Regions from separate parts of the Homo sapiens genome. Here region 2 is linked to region 1. The links are contacts of gene promoters, found by promoter capture Hi-C in blood cells and fetal thymus (Javierre and others, 2016). All regions are on one chromosome and are shown on one strand. The core of a region is centred on a gene start or on the middle of the fragment in contact, and the rest is flanking DNA. Distances in the headings are between cores, read along the strand shown.

The links. The method cuts DNA at HindIII sites, captures the fragments that hold promoters and counts their contacts. A CHiCAGO score of 5 or more calls a contact.
Region 2: a contact is called between the fragment with the promoter of ATP6V1B1-AS1 here and the fragment with the promoter of TEX261 in region 1, in 1 of 17 cell types (erythroblasts). The highest score is 5.8, in erythroblasts.

The regions. Positions count from the first base shown.
Region 1 is chr2:70,989,865-70,997,218 of GRCh38, reverse strand. TEX261 (testis expressed 261) reads left to right here and starts at 2,346. Exons shown (of 6, transcript NM_144582.3): 1 at 2,346-2,531; 2 at 3,444-3,523; 3 at 5,236-5,389. The coding sequence starts at 2,462. RefSeq lists an enhancer at 1,535-1,584 and silencers at 2,125-2,654, 2,685-2,774. The HindIII fragment of the contact is 23,402 bases long and covers 1-7,354 here.
Region 2 is chr2:70,943,753-70,951,106 of GRCh38, reverse strand. ATP6V1B1-AS1 (ATP6V1B1 antisense RNA 1) reads left to right here and starts at 2,496. Exons shown (of 2, transcript NR_110274.1): 1 at 2,496-2,880. The region is part of intron 2 of ATP6V1B1 (ATPase H+ transporting V1 subunit B1); the gene reads right to left. The HindIII fragment of the contact is 10,354 bases long and covers 1-7,215 here.

The sequences.
Region 1 (7,354 bases), core at 1,097-3,596:
AAGCACATAAATTACAGAATACATTTGGTTTTCTAAAAATAGTTTAATACTTGCATTTCTATATAATTGGTTTGCTTTGTAATCTTTTTTGTTTTATTTTTGTTTTTGTTTTTGTTTTGAGACGGAGTCTCCCTCTGTCCCCCAGGCTGGAGTGCAGTGACGCGATCTCGGCTCACTGCAAGCTCCGCCTCCCGGGTTCACGCCATTCTCCTGCCTCAGCCTCCTGAGTAGCTGGGACTACAGGCGCCCGCCACCATGCCCGGCTAATTTTTTTTTTTGTATTTTTTAGTGGAGACAGAGTTTCACCGTGTTAGCCAGGATGGTCTCAATCTCCTGACCTCGTGATCCTCCCGCCTCGGCCTCCCAAAGTGCTGGGATTACAGGCGTGAGCCACCGCGCCCGGCAACTGCAATTTTTTTTTTTTTTGAGACAAGTTTTCATTCTGTCATCCCAGCTGGAATGCAGTGGCCCAATCATAGCTCACTGCAGCCGCCATCTCCTGGACTCAAGTAATCCTCCTGCCTCAGCCCAGAGTAACTGCGACTACAGGTACGCACCACCATGCCTGGCCATTTTAAAATTTTTCTTTGCCCAGGCTGGTCTTGAACTCCTGGCCTCAAGTGATCCTCCTACCTCAGCCTCCCAAAGTACTGGGATTACAGGCATGAGCCACTGTGCCCAGCCTGCTTTGTAATCTTTTTTTTTTTTTTTTTCTTGAGACGGAGTCTCGCTCTGTCGCCCAGGCTGGAGTGCAGTGGCGCAATCTCGGCTCACTGCAACTTCTGCCTCCCGGGTTCACGCTCTTCTCCTGCCTCAGTTTCTTGAGTAGCTGGGACTACAGGCGCCCGCCACCAAGCCCGGCTAATTTTTTGTATTTTTAGTAGAGACTGGGTTTCACCGTGTTAGCCAGGATGGGCTTTGTAATCTTATGTATTTTGTTGGGGGGAGGGGGAAGCTATGCATAACATAAAATTGACCGTTTTAACCATTTTACAATTCTGTAACACTGTATACAATTCAGTGACATTAAGCACATTCACACTGTTGTGATGCCATCAGCACCATCCATCTTCCCAAACTGAAACCCTGTATCCATTAAAAAGTAACTCCCCATTCTTTGTCCCCCAGACCCTGGCAAGCACCATTTAACTTTCTGCCCATGATTTTGACTACTCTGGGTACCTCATATGAGGGGAATCATACAATGTGTGTCCTTCCCTATTTGGCTTATTTCACTTAGCATCATGCCTTCAAGGTTCATTGATGTTGTAGCATGTGTCAGAATTTCACTTCATTTTAAGGCTAGATAATATTCCATTGTATGTTTATAGCACTTTATGTCTATCTTTTCGTCAACCGATGGACATTTGGGTTGCTTCCCTCTTCTGACCATTGTGAATAATGCTATGAATATTGGTATACAAATGTCTCTGCTTTCTCAGTTCTTTTGGGTATATACCCAGAAGTAGAATTGCTAAATCATACGGTAATTGTTTTTTTTAGGAATACGTATTTTTATGCAGGAAAAATATGATTCTGAAATAAGCCTACTAGACTCTTGTTCTACATACTTTATTTTGCATGCCTGTCTCCGCCACTAGATGGGAGACTTGTTGACAAGGACTAACCGGTTCCAGGTGCCCCTCAGGAACCCTCCCAGAGGTGTAGTAAATGCATCCAGCGCCTAGCGGACGCCCTGCGTGCCCGGCAAGGGGTGAGGTGCAGGCGATACAAAGGTGCAGAATGTACCCCAAAAGAACAGCCTAGAGGGGAATTAGGCCGGAGGATGACCGATTAAAATCACCCCAACTCCTGATTGTGCCGCTTCCTAGGTGCATGACCCAGGGCAACTTCCTTTGGCCCCGGCTTCCCCGTCTATAAAATGATTTACATTATCTGCTCAAATTTCCGACAAGAACACACCTCGCCTTTATCACAGAGCGTGGCACATATTAGGAATTCAATAATTTTGTCCCTATCACCTGCGATAGCAAGAGACAGACTTGTCCGCAACCTGCCGGGAGGCAGGTTCTGGGGAGGTTGCTGGGGCGCGGTCGGGCGGCCCTGTCCGGCCCTGGACCACCTCCAGGCTGGTACGGGAGTGCACAGGGAGGGACTGGAGGCTGCACTCCGAGCCCCAGTATGGGCGCTTGGTCGTCTCCGCCCCTGGGCACCGTCCCGCCTCCCTCTGGCTGCAGCGGTCTGCATTCATTCCCCTCAGTGGAGCGGGGGATCCTGGCGGGGCAGCGGCGGTTGGCCCTCCTCTCCGGCGGGCGGCGCTAGCGCGAGCCTGGCCCCGGGCAGCGCTAGGGCCGGGCTCCTCTCGGCGGCGGCGCACCGTCGTCCTGTCGTCCGCGGGGCGGGGACGCGGCGGCGGCGGCGGCGGTGGCGGCTGTGTGTCGCCGGAGCCGAAGCGCGCAGGCCCGTCCCGGTGGCCGGGGAGCGGGCGGGTGGGGGCGCCATGTGGTTCATGTACCTGCTGAGCTGGCTGTCGCTCTTCATCCAGGTGGCCTTCATCACGCTGGCTGTCGGTGAGACTGCACGACCCCGGCCCGCGCGGGCTCCCGCCCCGGCATCGGTGCTCGTTGGGGGTCGCATCGCGGGGGTTTCGGAGCCACTCGGGGGACCACTGCCCGGCGCTCCCGGCCTTCGCCGCCCCAACCCCTTCCCGCCTGATCCTGCCCCTCCTGTCGAGCCTGGCAGCCCGGCCTGACCGTGGCTCCTTCCAGGTGTCACAGAGTCCGCTCCGGCACTGCCCGAGAAAGGGTGACTCGAGTGCCGCCCCCGCGTCTGCGGACCGCTAACCGCTGCGGCTCCCACTCTTCGCGGGCCTGCCGCGCGGAACTTTTCCCCAACGCCTACCGCCGCCTTTGCGCCTCTGGCCCTTCATGCTCCCTGCTCTCTCCACCTTTGACACTTCTCCTCTGGCTGGTTCCCATTCGGCCTCAGTTGAGATGTCATCTTTTCCGGGAAGTCCACAGGGGTTGATGGTCCAGCAGTGCCCTGTCCTTTCCCTAAAGTAGCATTTCTCACACTAAACTCGTCTGTCTCTCCCTACTGTTCCCCTTCCCTTTCCCAAGCTGGGTCAGGGAAGGACCCTTGTCTGTCTTTTTCAGCTGTATTCTCAGCCCAGGGACCTGGCTCATGCCAAGTGCCCAGCAGGTGTTTATTGAATACGTGAAATTCCGTTTTCTGAGCCAGAGGTTATCATTGTACTGTGGCATCAAATGCAGACTTTCGTTGATTTTTATGAGATTTGTCCTTAGTTGCCCTAAGAAAGTTTTACTTCTCCAGACTTGGAAGGGCAACACATGGGATGTTTGGTTTGTTCTTGACCTTCTGGGGTCCATGAAGGGTGGATGGGGACTGGGCTGCAGAGAGAGGGGTGACCAGGATGGTGGGAGTGACCCTGGCTGATAGTCTCCCTGCCTCCCACCCTGCAGCGGCTGGACTCTATTACCTGGCAGAACTGATAGAAGAATACACAGTGGCCACCAGCAGGATCATAAAATACATGATCTGGGTAAGTGGCATCTTTCTCCAGGAGTCCTCCTCACTCTTTTGCCCTGCCTCAAAAGCAGGAAGTGGGGAGAGTTTGGCATGGATGATGAGGCCTGTGTCTCTGCTGTTTCCTGAGCATACACTCTTACCTCCTTGCCCTGAACGCTGTCTTTTGGGTCTGCACTCCTGGGCCCAGATCTTCCCTGGCCGCCTTCCCCAAGTGGCATTGTTTCACTGCAGGCCTTGTGCTCTAGTCCTTAAGGTGACAGCGAAGTGTACTTCTCTGTTGACAAGACCGTAGATTTGACTTTGCTTAGCTCTCTCCCGCTGTCTTTAGCCCTTTGCTCTGCTCACAGCATTTAAAACTTAGAGGAGCCATAAGACAGTTTTGCATATATGTTCATTGCCATCTTTCTAATCGGATCAAGTGATTTGTCCTAAGATCGGCACAGCTTCGCTGCCCTCGCCCTTCCCTGGTCTCATGGGAGGCTTCTCTTACTGAAGACACAGTCCTTGCCACTGATATCAAAGCCATAGGGGTGACTGCTGGTGGACAGACTTCCTTCAGCTGCAGGAAAGGCTGGGGGTAGGGGTGCCATTGGAGAGAAAGCGTCCACAGCCCCTCAAGTCGCCTGGTGTCAGCAGCCATGTGCACTCTGGGCATGGCTGAGGTTGGGAGTTCACAGTGGAGGCAAGACTATAGCCCTCAGCTCTGGTCCAGAGGCCCAGCTTGTGGGTGTTGGCACAGTAATTAGCCCTTCATTCAGCCAACTGTCATTTGCTAAGCACTGACAACTGTAGGTACTTATCAGTAGTGTTTTTCAAACTGTAGGCATGATTCATTATTTGGCTGTATAGTAGGTCACAATCAGCATTTTTTAAAAAAAGGAACATAAATAGAATTGAAATTTGAGCTTTGAATCATATATATGTATATATGTGTTGGGGTCACAGTGTAAAATGTTTTTCTTTTTCTTTTTTTTTTTTTGAGATGGAGTTTCGCTCTTATTACCCAGGCTGGAGTGCAGTGGCACAATCTCAGCTCACCGCAACCTCTGCCTCCTGGGTTCAAGCGATTCTCCTGCCTCAGCCTCCCGAGTAGCTGGGATTATAGGCATGTGCCACCATGCCTGGCTAATTTTGTATTTTTAGTAGAGATGGGGTTTCTCCATGTTGGTCAGGCTGGTCACAAACTCCCAACCTCAGGTGATCTGCCTGCCTTGGCCTCCCAAAGTGTTGGGATTCCAGGCGTGAGCCACCTCGCCTGGCAGATGTTTTTCTTACTGTGGGTTGCTGTCAAAAAGTTTGAGAAATGGGCTGGGTGCGGTGGCTCACACCTGTAATCCCAGCACTTTGGGAGGCCATCAGAAGTTTGAGACCAGCCTGGCCAACATGGCAAAACCCTGTCTCTACTAAAGACACAAAAATTAGCTGGGCGTGGTTGTGCATGCCTGTAGTCCCAACTACTCAGGAGGCTGAGGCAAGAGAATTGCTTGAATCCAGGAGATCGCGCCACTGCACTCCAGCCTGGATGACAGAGTGAGACTCCGTCTCAAAAAAAAAAAAAAAAATGTTGCCTTTTGGGAGCAGAGAACCTAGCTGGGGAGGCCAGACCTGTGAAATGAGGAGATTGAAGCATGAACCTAGTGCTGCCCAGAGCGGGCTGGGGGTTGGTGAGTCCAGGAACGTTGCCTGGAAGAAGCGCCCTGCACTGTCTGCCTCTGGTTGTTTCAGTTCTCCACCGCTGTACTGATTGGCCTCTACGTCTTTGAGCGCTTCCCCACCAGCATGATTGGAGTGGGCCTATTCACCAACCTCGTCTACTTTGGCCTCCTCCAGACCTTCCCCTTCATCATGCTGACCTCGCCTAACTTCATCCTGTCGTGTGGTGAGAGGGGACAGAGTTGGGGAGGCAGCTGATGTGGTTGGGTGTGCCCATCTCCATCCTGGGCACTAAAGGGGATACAGAAAAAGGAAGCCAGCTGTTGAAGTCCTCCAGGAAGCCAGGCTAGTTGGGAAGATGCGGTTCTTACTGCTGAGGACTCTAGAGCCCACCTTGGCTCTAGTGAATAGAATTTGTTGGGGCTGGGGACTCAGACAGGGAGGGCTTTCCCAGAGAGGTAAGTTTGAAGGAGAGTTTGGGAAAGAAGAGGTTGTGGATTGGCTGAGGCAGGGCCCCCAACTGAGCAGTTCCAGCCTCAAAAAAACCACTTGGCCAGAAAAAGCCCAAAGCCCTTCCGGTAGGCAGGCAGCTGTCCGTCCAGTCCTCTGACCCAAAGTCATTGTTAGGACTGGAGCCTCATGGGGCTGTGAGCACCTTGCAGACTCTGGCCTGGTGTGAATGCCTCCTGGGGGCTGCAGCTTCTCATCTCATTCTCACTGGCTGCCGCTGCCTCGGGCTTGAGCCTGGATGTGGAGGACCCAGTCTTCTTGGCGTTGCCCTGCCACCACTTTCTGACCCTGGGGAATCATTGGCCCTCTCTGGGCCTTAGCTTCTCCATCTATTCAGAGAGGATGTTTCTGAAAGAACTATTGGGAGACTCAGTGGGCATATAGTAGGTGCATATAGGTATTTACAGATATTCCTGGAAAAGGCTTCGGAAAGTATTTTGGTTGCCAAGATTGCCATTGCTCCTGTTCATCATTGCTGGCTACCCTAGCTTTCAGTCAGGGTATCAGATGGAGTTAGGGGTTTTTTAGAGTGACTTTTCTATTTCTATGAGAGAGCCTGGAGGGTGAATATTATCCACACAAAGGGCATATTGTTAAAGCCAAAACTGGTTTCTTCCTTGGGTGTGATTTCACCAAAGAATTTGTTCAGCAGAGGTTTGTTAGGGAGCCCTTCCATGGAGACCAGGCCCCTCTGTCCAGGGAAGAAGTCCTGCCCCCAGCCCCTCAGCAGCAGGCTCCCCTGACTTCACTCCCTTGATCTGCCCTTTAATGCCTAAAAGAGTTTTTCCAAAAGATCTTGTGGGCACCAGGCACTATCCTACCTCCCATTATCTCTTAGCCCTAGAGTGTGGCTAGGCATAGCAGAACTGTAGTCTTTGCCTTAGAATGGGAGAGGCAGGAGAGAAGAAAGGAGACATGAGAATTGCTGTGAGGTGTGTGTGAGGGGACAGTCAGTTTCAGGGGACATGTTCTTTCTGGTGCCTGCCCTTCACCTCACCATGGGAACCGGCAGGGATGACTGTCTCTTGAGCAGCCTGTGTCCAGGATATGCACACGTGCCCTCTTTTATAAACTCAGTTACACACCAAGGAGGGGTGGCTGTGTGTGTGTGTGTGTCCAGAACGTATCAGTTCACACCGGTATGCCTTACCTGGGGGCAGGATGAGGAGGGACCCCCTCCCCCAGAATGTTGAGGAACCTGAAGACTGCACCTCAAAGCATCTAGCAAGTCTTGCCCTTTTATTCCTGAGGAGTGAGAGCCTTTTTATTTGAGCAGGCCTTCTCCTTGCTGCCCAGTTTGTTTATTTGAGCAGGCCTTCTCCTTGCTGCGAGTTTGGAGTAGAGCCTCTTAGGGGCGTCTGGTCTGCACACCCATGATTTCTCCCCACCTGTCACTGTGGGAGAGCTTTCTTTAGCCCTCACATCCACGAAAAACGAGGTTCATCGTCATGATGCTTTGGATTATGTAACATAGAAGTCTCACTTTTATAACATGCAAAGAGCCTTCTTCTAATTTTACTCAGAATGCCCTGTGCAGTGGGCAGGTTGAGGCTCATTCTCCCATTTTAGCAGATGGGAAACGGTTCTAGGCAGTAGCCTACTCTGAGTTGAGTGTAAAGTCAGGCCTAAGACTCCATGGAGGCTCCCAACTTCTGAGGGCCTTTTGAAGTTAAAAGTACAG
Region 2 (7,354 bases), core at 1,247-3,746, 46 kb after region 1:
GCCAGGCGTGGTAGAGGGCGCCTGTAATCTCAGCTTCTCGGGAGGCTGAGGCAGAAGAATCGCTTGAACCGGGGAGCTGGAGGTTGCAGTGAGCCAAGATTTTGCCACTGCACTCCAGCCTGGGCAACAAGAGTGAAACTCCGTCTCAAAAAAAAAAAAAAAAAAAAAAAAAAATCAGGAAAAAATTATGCACACACAGTCACACATGGAGAGCAAATGATAGAGCAAATGAGATAATATATTAACCGTTGGTGACATGGATGTTCCTACTACTATTTTTATCTTTGCAAATTTTTATAAAATTGAAATTGTTTCAAAATAAAAAGTAAAGTAAAAGTATACTGACGGAAAAAGAGACATAATTCCCTTTATTTGCAGATTATATTATACATTTAGAAAGACTCAAGAGGTTCTGGTTTAGAAAGAAGGTTTTAGAATGAATAAGATAATTTGGCTGTTTATAAGATAAATATTTAAAAATCATTCCCCCCCTCCTTTTTTTTCTATTTTAGTAGTAACCAGTTAGAAGAGGCAACGGAGAAAACCATCCCATCTGCAATAGGGCCAAAACTCATAAAATAGCTAGAAATAAATATAACAAGAAAGGTACAAAAAAAAATTATGGAATAACATAAAACAAGTCCTAAACAATGAAGAACATTATTGTCTTAATGTTCTTAGTTACTAGCATAAAAACATTAATCCTTTTGAAAAGTATATAAATTTGATCCAACCCTAATGGATTATTGTTTATTTTAAAATTTAATAAAATTATTTTAAAGTTCACATAAATGTCTGAGAATAGCCAAAGTAGTTATGAAAAAGATCAGAGATAGAGGACTTGCCTTTTCAGATATTAAAACTTGTTATAAAGCTACTGAAGTCAAGCAGTAAATTGATATGAGGTAGACAAATGGATCAGTAGGAAAGAAAAAAAGTCCAGAAGGAGATCCCAGATTTTATAGGACTATTATAGAACAAATGTTGTATATTAATTAATTCTCAGAGGGGAAATAATATATAGAACATAAGAGGATATCTAGTTAGAAGATAACCACATCATAAACCCAAATACATTCCAGGCATGTAAAAAAAATTTAAATATAAAGTAAAAACAATTTTTAAAAAATACTGGAAGAGCTTTTCTTCTTTCCTATCTTTCTGAATAATCCAATTAAAAGACAGATGAGCAATGTCTTTAAGCAAGACAAGAAATTCAGAAGGTATAAACAAAAAATATTTGATCATATGAGTATTTCAAACTTCTGTATGGCAGAGACACAATAGATGAAATCTTTGTTTCATTTATTGTTGCAAAAGATAGCCTGTGAGCAATAAACAAGGAGCTCCCGTATGCACAACTTGCTTGGTAGGAAGATTTCACGGAGAAGGAAGCAAAATCAAAATGGTAAACATATGGACAGACACTCAACTTTCCTAGTTATCAGAGAAATGTAAATAAAAGCGAGACAGTACTAGTTTTCATTTATTAGATAGGTAAAACTACAGAGAGAACATATTCAGGGCCAGCAAGGATGTGGGGAAGTGGGTCCTCTCATACCTGGTTGGTGGAAATGTGAATTACCACAACCCTTCTGGGCAAGCCATCTTGCCCCAAATTGTCAATATCTAATTTGAAATAAAAAAGTACTTGAACCAGCAATTCCACTTCTGGGAATCTATCCTATAACCACAAAAGCGTCCGTTTAAAAGGGATACAATATTGTACTATTTGTAATGGCAAAACCTGAGAACATACGAATGTCTGTCAATAATGGGACTATTGAGTAAGTTACAGTACATCCATACTATCGCCTGCTATGCCAGTATCCAAAAGAATGCGTAAAATGTGTATCCGCTGACACTGTCAGTGGATCCACTGTCAGTCCCTTGGCTCTCAAGGGACTGACCCCGAGGTCAACCTCTAACATATTTGCCTGTGTTTGAGCGTATTCAGCAGGGTCTTTCGGGGCTGAGAATAAAGCGGTTAGGGGCAGATAGTTAACTTTACGTGTCTTTCCTCTTTTTCACTAAGTTACAAGGAGCATGTATTATTTTTGCAATTAAAATATAATACATTTTTAGGACATGTTACAGCACAGTGCTGGTGATTATCATCATCATTACTATCGTTATATCACCTACTGGCCACAAACTAGTGACCTTAAGGGCTTGCGGGTTGGGGCGGAGGGTCCAATTCCCCAGCAAGGTGTGACCAAGTAGGGACCACTCCGCCAGGGAACCCCTGCTGGTCGAACTTGAGACTAGGTTTGCAGCCCTGACAATCACACGGAAGGGAGCGCTACCTTGAGTCCTCCCTTGTCCTGTGAAGAGGATGCCAGGAAGGTGACCTGTGGTTCCCCAAACCACCCCTCAGCCTTGCGGAGTGGGGGCTTCAGCACTAGGCCGGCCGGGGAGGAGGGCTCCGAGGTGGGAGGAGCTCCGAACACCCAGGCGTCTTGGGTTCTCAACCACAAGAGGGAGCCCAGGAGCACGGACAGCGAGGGCCTGGGAAACGCGTGGAACACACGTCCCGGCTCGTTTTCCTCTCCCACTCTGATAACCTGTGTTTCGATACGAAACGGGCCCTGCCTCATTATTTGTCATCTCCCTGGAGGTGACGGAGGGCTGTTTCAACCTCAGGGGAAAAGTTGCTGTACAGAACACAGGCCAGAGTGTGCCCCAAAGAAATCAGGCGGTGGAGTGATTTAAAAGTGATCATTTTCTGTAGTCCTAGCTACTCGGGAGGCTGAGGCAGGAAAATCGCTTGAACCCGGGAGAAGAAGGATGCAGTGAGCAGAGATCGTGCCATTGCACTTCAGCCTGGCGACAGAGCAAGACTCCGTCTCAAAAAGAAAAAAAAAAAGTGATCATTTTCATGTGAGTTTATGTGGGTGAGAGAGGGAGGGTGGCAGGAGAGGAGAGTGGAGAGGAGAGTGGTGCGTTCTGTGTCCCTGAAGGACAAAATCAGAGAAAATGAACTTTAAATGGCAGAAATTGTGGTCAGATCTGGGGAAGGGCCATCAGGTTTTCACACTCAGGCATGGAGGGTGTAGTGTCTGGAACCTTTAGGAAGAGCCCCAGGCTCTAAGTGTGTGCTGGATGTTCGTCGTTATTGTTGTTGGTGGTGGGATCTCATGACCAGTTATGGCAGTGGGTACCTGGGAGAATTCCCGTGGGGGATAGCTAGTCCAGGAGCTTGTATCTTAAGGGGCCCTATTTCCCAGCCGCATACTGAGCAGGCCTGATCCCATCAACTCGGTTGATGTCGGTTACTAAGAGGGCTGCAGGAAGAGGGCATGACTCAGTGCAATGTAACCCCGTGCTGGAGATTCAACTGAGCTCTCAACCAGCAAGTGGCCAGGCACAGGGGAGCTGCTGTCTACACACGGAGGACTGGAAGTTCTTAGCAAGCCTGTCGGGATTTGTGCACAGGAATGCTGCCTCTAAGGTCCCTCCTGCTGACAATGGCCAGGGCAGTGCGGAGGCTCCTCTTTGGAAATTGTCTTCAGAGCTGATGCAGACTCTTTTGAAAGCAGCCACAGACATTGGGGATGGAGTCTGGTGGTTAAGGTGAGTGCTTACTCCAATTCTCAAACAGGGACCAATTTGAATCACAGACTACAGGAGTCAGAAGATTCTCTAGAACAGAGGTTCTCCGTGTGGTCCCCATACCAGCAGCATCACCTAGGAACTTGATAGAAATGTACATTCTTGGGCCTCCTACCCCAGGCATGCTGAATCAGAGCTCTGGGGTGGGGCCTAGCAATCTGCCTGTTAACAAGCCCCCTGCACCCCTGATATTCTGATGCTTGTTCAACTTATACAAATCAGAGAGTTAGACTTTTCTGGGTCACGAACCCTGAAAAATCAGACGAAACTGTAGAAACTCCTACCAGAAAAATGCACAGGCACATTCATGCATACCTTCAAAGGTCTGCACACAATTTCAAGGGCCTAATTCCTTGGGCTAAGAACCTCTGATCTACACAAAATTCTTCCCTCAAATGTTCTTACATTTGAGGACGGAAGCAGGAAGAGTAATTGCCTGTGTGATTCAATGTGGGCAGAAGGTGGCGCTGTAGAAACAGAATTGTAGCATTTGCCAAATCCTGGTAGAGGGAAAGGGGTAGGGGCAACGGAGAGGGATGGGGAGAGGTGCCTCCACCACCCAATTATTTTTCTCTGCCAAAGCTACAGATGCATCCGATAGTCGCAAAACCACAGGTCTGGGGACCTAGTTCTGGTTTCCTAGATCGGCCTCATTTTACAGTGGAGAAAATGGACACCTGTATAGGTTCCGACTCCATGCCACACTGGGTCCCATGGAGAATGGCAGGTCTGGTGGAGAGTGTGGTGGAGGTGGAGAGGGGGCAGGAGGTGGCACCAACTGTTGAATCAGGCTTATTAGCATTTCTGCATTCCAGGCAGAAACATTGCTGGCTATTCTCAAGGGAGAATAATACTACATTTGTCTGATGTGAACCTCACAATAATCCTATTATTATTTAATAGATGAGGAAACTGGGATTTACAATCCGAGATTGATGGTTCTCTAACTTGAGCATCAGTTCACCTGGAAGGCTTGTGAGGACAGACTTCTGGGCCCTACCCCCAGAGCTTCTGATTCTGTCAGTCTGAGGTGGAGCCCAAGAATTTGTATTTCTAACACGTTCCTGGGCAGTGCTAATGCTGTTGATCTAGGGTTGGCATGTAGCTAGCAGAAAAGAGTGGGATGGATCTGGGATTAAAATCCAAACCCAGTGTGCTGCACTTAACTACTCAGCCACACTTCCTCCTGGGGCGTCCCTTACACTGGGGGGTCAAGTGGTAATGTCCGTATGAACTCAGAATCTGTTTGTTAGCAAAGAATGGGTCTGATTTATTTAATATTGTTGGCTCAGGTTTTGACAGGTGCATAGCTAGTCATGCTAACATTTATTCATTCATTTATCTCATTAATGTACTCACCTTTCCTTTGAGCAAACATGCTGAGCACCTACTATAGCCTATGTGTTCAGTAAAAATGCTGTGTTGGGCTTCTGGAGCTGAAGATGAACAAAACACAGTTCATGGCCAATAGCAGGGCACGGTGTGTGTGGGGAAGGGTAGGGAGGAGATACATGGCCAGATCTTGACCAAATACCTCAGTGGATGCCACTAATAAAACCACAAAAAGTAGAGAAGAGGGAGAGGCATCCAGGAGAAGGTGACCTCTCAACCCTGGGGATGAGTCAGAGGGAGGGAATAGGGGGAAGTGTAGTCTAGGAGGCAGAGGGAAAAATCTGTGCACAAAATTACAGCTAGCCAGGAGCAATAAGTTCTAGTGTTCTATACCACAATAGGATGACTGTAGTTAACAACTATATATATATATATATATATATATATATATATATATATATCTCTTCAAATAGCCAGAAAGAGGATACTAATATTCCCAACACAAAGAAAGGATGCTGGAGATGATGGATATGCTAATTGCCCTGACCTGATCACTATGCATTATATGTATCAAAACATCACTGTGTACCTCAGGAATATGTACAATTATTGTGTGTCTATTATAAAATGCACAGACACAATCCCCCATTCTTTGTCATTCCTTTCTACATACTCTATCCTCTTGTCCAACTAATTGTGAGAAGGGTTCTTTGCCTAGAACCTATCTCAGAGTCTACAGAGAGAACTCAGGGCTTCTGTGATCTTGAATGGGAAAGTTACATTTTTACATTCATTAACGTTTACGCAAATTTAGTGTTTCCTCTAGTTCTGAATGTAAGGAACAAACCACGGTAGAATTAGCATTTCCACGGTACCTGTGACTTTGTTACCATCAGAAATCACAGATATTTTCATACCACATTACAGTCGTTGCAGGTATCTCAAAATAGTATTTGTGCTCATCACTGCTTTAAAATTATAGCAGTGAAACTGGCGGTGACATCTCGTAATTTAATTTGTTAATAAACATACATTACTGATCACATTTTTAAAAAATGACATGCAAGTGCCCAGAGATCTCAAATGGCAGCCCCATGCAGACACTATTTCAGGTGTTGGTTTCTACACAGGGAAGGGAGAGTGATGAGAGTGAGTGGAAAGGCTTGCAGGCACCCTCATAGAAAAGACCTGTAAGCAGCTGGGCACGGTGGCTCACGCCTGTAATCCCAGCACTTTGGGAGGCCGAGGCGGGCGGATCACCAGGTCAAGAGATCGAGACCATCCTGGCTAACACGGGGAAACCCCGTCTCTGCTAAAAAACAAATAATCAGCTGGGCGTGGTAGCGGGTGCCTGTAGTCCCAGCTACTCGGGAGGCTGAGGCAGGAGAATAGCGTGAACCTGGAGGGCGGAGCTTGCAGTGAGCCGAGATTGCGCCACTGCACTCCAGCCTGGGGGACAGAGTGAGACTCCGTCTCAAAAAAAAAAAAAAAAAAGAAAAGACCTGTAAGCTGAGGGCACTGGAGAGCCCTGGGCAAATTTGATGCAAGGGTCAGGTCTGAAGGGCTGGAGGATGGAGACAGGATAGGAGGGTGCCAGGCTGGGAGCCCAAGGCCATCGCCATCACAAGGTAGCAGTGGGGTGGGAGGGAGCTACAGACATGGGCGCTGGCAGGTGTGGGGTCTGGGACAAGAGGGGTCAAAGGGGCACCGAGACTTCCAGTTTGCTCAGCTAGGAGGTGGGGTGGGAGGCTGAGGGAGTGGGGCTGGTTGGTGGAGGGAGGATAAGAGAGTGATCTTGTACCTTTGCAGGGCTCTTTATGGCTCAAGAATTCCCAACCCCAGGACTCAAGATACTGTCAGTGTCTGCCAGTTTCCCAGGGGCTACAAAATAGCCCACAGCCCACTTACCTTTGGTGGGGCCCACTTCACTTACCACCCATGTTGCTGAGACTGAGATATTCCAAAGGCCTTTGGAGGCCATCAAGATCCCTAGAAAATTTAGTTGGCATTGACTTGCCACCTCCTCCTCTTTCCCGTTAAAAGAAGATCCTGTGAGAGTCGAGGGTGGGGAGAGTCTAGCCCTCGAGGAGGTTAGGTACAGCCGTGCTGTGGTCCAGCCTTCCTCTGAGGAGGTTAGGTACGTCCATGCCACTGATAGGGAAACGGAGGCAGGACAGCTTGTTAGGGATAGTAGGAGGTTTCCCAAGGCCCAGGGCTGGGCCTCCATGGGGTTTTTATGGTTTTTACTGAAAAGGCAGGGAGGAGAAAGCTTGGACGGCTGGGGATACAGCTAGGGAAGGAGAGTGGGAGTGGGTGCCTGGATGGAGAGAACAGAGCAGGCCCTGGGGGCCATGGAGGGAAAGGGTAATTTAGAAGAAATCCTGCAGGGCAGGGGAGAGGCGCCCTGGGA